2 separate regions of the Homo sapiens genome follow, and region 2 is linked to region 1. Evidence: promoter capture Hi-C in 16 types of primary human blood cells and fetal thymus (Javierre and others, 2016). All regions are on one chromosome and are shown on one strand. The core of a region is centred on a gene start or on the middle of the fragment in contact, and the rest is flanking DNA. Distances in the headings are between cores, read along the strand shown.

Region 1 (2,764 bases), core at 265-2,764:
TATGGTTCAGTTCAAAATATTTTCTCAATACCATTGACTCTGTCTCTGTGTTATTCAGGCTTGTTTTTACAGTTCTTTATTGATTTCTATCTTAAATGCACTGTAGTAAAAAATGACAATTATTTCAATTTTCAAAATTTCTTGAGTTGCTTTATAACTAAGTATGTGGTTGACTGTGGTGATGTGTCTGCTTTCAAAAAACTGTACATTCTGATTTTGGTCGTGTTGTTCTGTACATATTAATTGCGTCATTTTTACATCATGTTATTCACGTTTCCTATATCCTTAACTTTTCTCTTGCTAGTCTTAACGATTAGTGAGAAAGTCCTGTTAAAATTACCCAATATGACCAGGCATTTTTTTTCTTTGTAATTCTGTCACTTCACTTTGTTTCATATGTATTTTTCATTAGGTACTTATAAATTTTAAATTTAAAACACATTTCCTTTTTAGACTCAGAAGTCATCTAAGACTCTTTCCTTTCATTCCTTTTATATCCCATCAGTCATATTTAAAAGATATCTATATGTAAACTGACGTCAATAGACATGATGTAAAAGAAGGGGGTGGCTCTGGTAAAGCTAAAGTAACTCCACTATGAGAGTGCATTAACTATGGGGGAAATACTTTCTATATTGCAGAACACATATTTGGTGGTACGTAGCCTCACATCGCCACCCGGAAAAGTCTGCATATATTGAATTTGGAATGGATCAAACTGCACTGAGTGCAAAATTGTAAATTGCATCTTATATAAATGTTTTAGAACTAGATGATGGAGCAGATGGGATCTATTAAGAGAACGGGGTGCCAGATGACTGACCATAAACATGCTTTTTAATAAAGACTCTGCTGAGAGATTAACTCATATATTTTCTAAAATTTTTATTTCTTGTTCATTTTGTTTCTAAGATATTCACTCACATATTAAAAATAACAACGTCTCAAAACATTTGAAGCAACTCTCTTCATCCCTTTTAAAAATACCTTGCTGTTTCGGGGGTTAAAAAAAGCCACAAGGGAGATTAAAACAATACAAATATTTATTTTCCCAACTCCCCTGCCATGGGTTCTGGGACGTCACCGCCTCTTTCTGGGGCCCGTTTCATCCTTTTCTTTTAATCCAAGAAGCGATGGTGTTGTGCGCCTGTAGTCCCAGCTACCTGGGAGGCAGGCTGAGGTGGGAGGATCTTTTGGGTCCAGGATTTTGAGGCTGCAGTAAGCCGTGTTCTCACCACTGCACTCGAGACTGGGCGGAAGAGCGAGACACTGTATCAAAAACAAAACAAAACAAAACGAGAAGGCATCGCGGCTCTGTAACACTCCGTCCAGCTCTCGCACTCTCAGATGCAAACTTCCACACAAACTCCTCGGCTCGCCTTGTCCCGCGGGACTAGCATATCAAGCCTTCCGGGACACACCGTGCGATGATATATACGTATATACCCCTCTTGCCCTTGAAGGCCGGAAGTCGGTCTTACAGATAAAAGCGAAACAGGAAGTCCCGCCCCTCTATGGAAAGTAAATGGTAGCTCGGAAGGGTCAAAAGAGTCCGCGGTTTCGCCGCGTGAGTTGCTTTTTGCGGCTGGGGAGGTCTACGCTTCTAGAGCTTGAGCCAGCGGGGCGACCCTGCAGTGGCAGGACTCGGCACCGCGCCCTCCACCGCCGGTTGGTGGCCTGCGTGACAGTTTCCTCCCGTCGACATCGAAAGGAAGCCGGACGTGGGCGGGCAGAGAGGTCGGCTTGCTGATGGGTCCGGGTGGGGCGCGCGTGGACTATGGGCCCGGGAGGTCCCTTACTGTCCCCGAGCCGCGGGTTCCTCTTGTGCAAAACGGGGTGGCACTCCAATCGCCTGCTTGGTGATTGTGGCCCCCACACACCTGTTTCTACAGCGCTTAGGTTCGAACAGTAACCCTGTAAACTAGGCACTGCTGTCCCCGCTTTACTGGTGGGAAACGGGCTCGGAGAGAATAAATGAGCTGCCCTAAGCGACTGGGACAGAACCACAGTTCTCAGCCGGGCTTTCTGAGCCCACGCTGCCGCCCCAGCAGGGATCAAATCACACAGTGTGAGATAAGCCTCAAGAGCGGGTGGCCTTATGCTGCCACTGAGAACTGATTGGGTTCAGTTGCCTCATCAAAATCCCTAAGCATGGTTTTGTTTTGTTTTTGTTTTTTTTTTTTTTTTTAGTTTTAAAGGAAGAGGAGATTGACGGTTTTCCTCTTTCCTTATCTTCTCTTCAGATTACAAAGTTCATTGTTAATCTCAAATATTATTTTGGCCAACAGCTTCATCGCAGTAGGAATGGCAGCCCCATCTATGAAGGAAAGACAGGTCTGCTGGGGGGCCCGGGATGAGTACTGGAAGTGTTTAGATGAGAACTTAGAGGATGCTTCTCAATGCAAGAAGTTAAGAAGCTCTTTCGAATCAAGTTGTCCCCAACAGTGGGTAAGTCACACTTTGATGTGTTTCTCTTCCCTGTTAAGATACATCGAGCTTATACTGTGAGTGGTAGGCTGACATGAAGCGCTCTCTGAGGCATGTCAATTAACAGTTTCTTTGAGGCGCAGAGAAAACCTTGCCTGGTAATTCAGCCTTATTTGACGCACTTACATCAGCTAGATCTTTGGAGAATGTCAACTGACACATTAAAGAGCATCGAAAAACACAACAAACATATGAACAGTAACCAAAAAATTCCAGTTCATTTCACTGGTAGACTTTTCCAGGATCTTCTGAAGGGGTAGTATTTAATCTTGGGCAG
Region 2 (2,764 bases), core at 188-2,687, 1.1 Mb after region 1:
CCTGAGTCTTCACATACATAGAAGTCAACTTCTATGCGTTTCTTCCCCTAGTCCCTCACTACACAATCTTCAGAGGTTGATCTCATTGAGAACAGACTAAGGCTTTGGGCCCCTAACTAATAACTGAGAGCTATCTAATGTCAGCATGAAATGGATTACCAAAGCTCAGTTCCAGAAGGGTAGTCAGGAAAAAGAGCATGGCATATTACACATACTGCAGATTACACAACTAAAAAATACTACAAAACTGAAAAAAATTAAATTTATCTCTGTGAAGTTAGTGAAAAGTATATTTAGACATGCACATGTGTCTAAGGAGAGAACTGCTCTAGAACAGAACCTTTTAAGAATTGCTATTCTAAATCAAAGCAAAAAACAAACAAACCACACTGGGTATCTAAATACTACACGTTAACCAGTGAATATACTCTCTTCCAATTATCATTTGGCTTAAAATGTTGGTTAAATTTACTTTTTGGCCCAAACTATATGGAAGAAAAGCAAATGAAACAGCCATTTCTCCCAGGAAGAGCCCACATATCTGAATGAACATTTCTATTCAAAGTAAGGTTTTTCAGAACTTTTTTTTTTTTTAAATTAGGCAGGGACTCATTCCCATCATGCAGGCTAGAATGCAGTGGTGCAATCATGGCTCACTGCAGCCTCAATTTTCCAAGCTCAAGCAATCCTTCCACCTCAGCCTCCCCGGTAGCTGGGACGACGGGCACACACCACCACGCCTGGCTAGGTTTTTCAGAACTCTTATTTCAATAAACCAGGCAAGGCAACAACTCAGAAAACCTACCGTTGACTTAATGTGGGATGCTGTAGCAAATGTCTCATCCAGGTGCTTCTTATCACGTTTCGAAGTTCATGGTTATTGCGAGCTGACAACACGCCAACTACCACATCATAGTGAGTAGATTTCCACTGAGGAAATAAGGCCAACTGATCTAGAAATAAGAACAATACATGAGAAATAAGTCATGTATCAATTACTATGAAGTTCAATATGTATCATAAGTTTATTACAAAATAAGCTTATGTTTGTAGGAAATTCAGATAAACACAAAGAAAAGAATTTTTAAATCACATATGAACCCACTATCCAGAGACAACCACTAATAACATTTTGGTTTAGAGTATTTTTGTCTTTCACGTATATATGTATGTATTCATGCTCACGTAAGTATACTAATTCTTCAAAACAAACAAGATGTGGTAAGAATCTGTTTCAAAAGGCAACGTAGCATAAAAAAATAGTAGGCATTAAGAGTCAATTAGGCCACAGTTAGAATCCAGGCTCTATCATATATTAACTATAAGTTATTTAGCTTCTTGAGCCTCAGTTTCCTCAACTACAAAATGGGTATAATAATACTTCTCATAAAGCTGTTGTAAAAATTAAATGAGATAACATGTATAAAGCTCTTGGTTTGGTATTAGGCATATATGAGGCATTCAATGGCAACTAAAAAAAATGTGCTTTGAAAAGTGAGGTCCTACATTAATGTTAGTTATTAAGTTTGGCGGATGACGCTGAAGGACTTCCATACCGGAAAGTAATGCAACCCTTATTTATATCAATGAATTCTATAGCCAGTAAACCTTTCACTACCTACAAAATATTCTGAAGAATGACGGGAAAGCAACACTTTTAGTAAAAAAAAAAAAAAATAATAATAAAGTAAGTCATTCTGAACGGCTCATTTTTTACTGTCAGAAGGTCTAATGGGCAGGGTTACATTTCCATGTAAAACTTGTCCTTAGAAGACAGAAGAGAAAGATATACTTTGTCCTTGTTTTTCATCACCAGTTTTAAGGCTTGAGAGCTACAAGCTTATATATAGCTCTGATGAGGTATCCATTTCATCTCTTTCTCCAGTGGTGGGAACTGATCCAAAACGTTTCCAAAAATAAATTATTGAAGCCCAGACTCTTTACTATATTAAATGCAATGTTTTTATATACCATGGGATCTAGGTATTCAGTCTAAAAGACAACAAAACCAGGTTGATATTTTCTTCAAAGGCCCAATTAAAATAATAAAAACAGATCTTTCTACTAGGATAGTTTTAAGGATATAATACAGAAATTTTTGTGTAGATACCTTATTTTCCACAATAGATATATTTCTTAAAATGTTTCATTCTGGGCCAGGCACGGTGGCTCATGCCTGTAATCCCAGCACTTTGGAAGGCCGAGGTGGGCGGATCACCTGAGGTCGGGAGTTCAAGACCAGCCTGACCAACATGGAGAAACCCTGTCTCTACTAAAAATACAAAATTAGCCGGGTGTGGTGGTGCTTGCCTGTTATCCCAGCTACTTGGGAGGCTGAGGCAGGAGAATCTCTTGAACCCGGGAGGTGGAGGTTGGGGTGAGCCGAGACCGCGCCATTGCACTCCAGCCTGGGCAACAAGAGTGAGACTCCACCTGAAAAAAAAAAAAAAGTTCCATTCCAAATGGAATAGAGGTATTTATTATTTCACTCTACAATGAGTCATGTACTAAAACGAATTCTTTTATAAAGACAATTTATTTTTAAATAAATTCAAATTTTCATGGATTAAGCTTATTAATAGGCCATATTTATTGAACAGTTAATCTGTGAAAAGCACTACATATAGAGTATCATTTAATGTTCACAACCCTATGAGGTAGGTACTTGTTTCTTTTTTTTTTTTTTTTTGACGGAGTCCCACTCTGTGGCCCAGTCTGGAGTGCAGTGGCGGCGATCTCGGCTCACTGCAACCTCTGCCGCCCG

What was found. The method cuts DNA at HindIII sites, captures the fragments that hold promoters and counts their contacts. A CHiCAGO score of 5 or more calls a contact.
Region 2: a contact is called between a fragment that was not itself captured here and the fragment with the promoter of COA6 in region 1, in 3 of 17 cell types (activated CD4 T cells, naive CD4 T cells and total CD4 T cells). The highest score is 6.5, in activated CD4 T cells.

What each region holds. Positions count from the first base shown.
Region 1 is chr1:234,371,942-234,374,705 of GRCh38, forward strand. COA6 (cytochrome c oxidase assembly factor 6) reads left to right here and starts at 1,515. Exons shown (of 3, transcript NM_001206641.3): 1 at 1,515-1,737; 2 at 2,289-2,448. The coding sequence starts at 1,526. It overlaps COA6-AS1 (COA6 antisense RNA 1), which reads right to left and starts at 1,652. Exons shown (of 2, transcript NR_125961.1): 1 at 1,482-1,652; 2 at 866-1,269. RefSeq lists enhancers at 703-1,527, 1,349-1,898. The HindIII fragment of the contact is 9,162 bases long and covers 1-2,764 here.
Region 2 is chr1:235,493,876-235,496,639 of GRCh38, forward strand. It overlaps B3GALNT2 (beta-1,3-N-acetylgalactosaminyltransferase 2), which reads right to left. Exons shown (of 12, transcript NM_152490.5): 2 at 806-953. Among named protein-coding and RNA genes, the nearest start is that of B3GALNT2, 9.2 kb to the right of the region's middle. The HindIII fragment of the contact is 799 bases long and covers 1,039-1,837 here.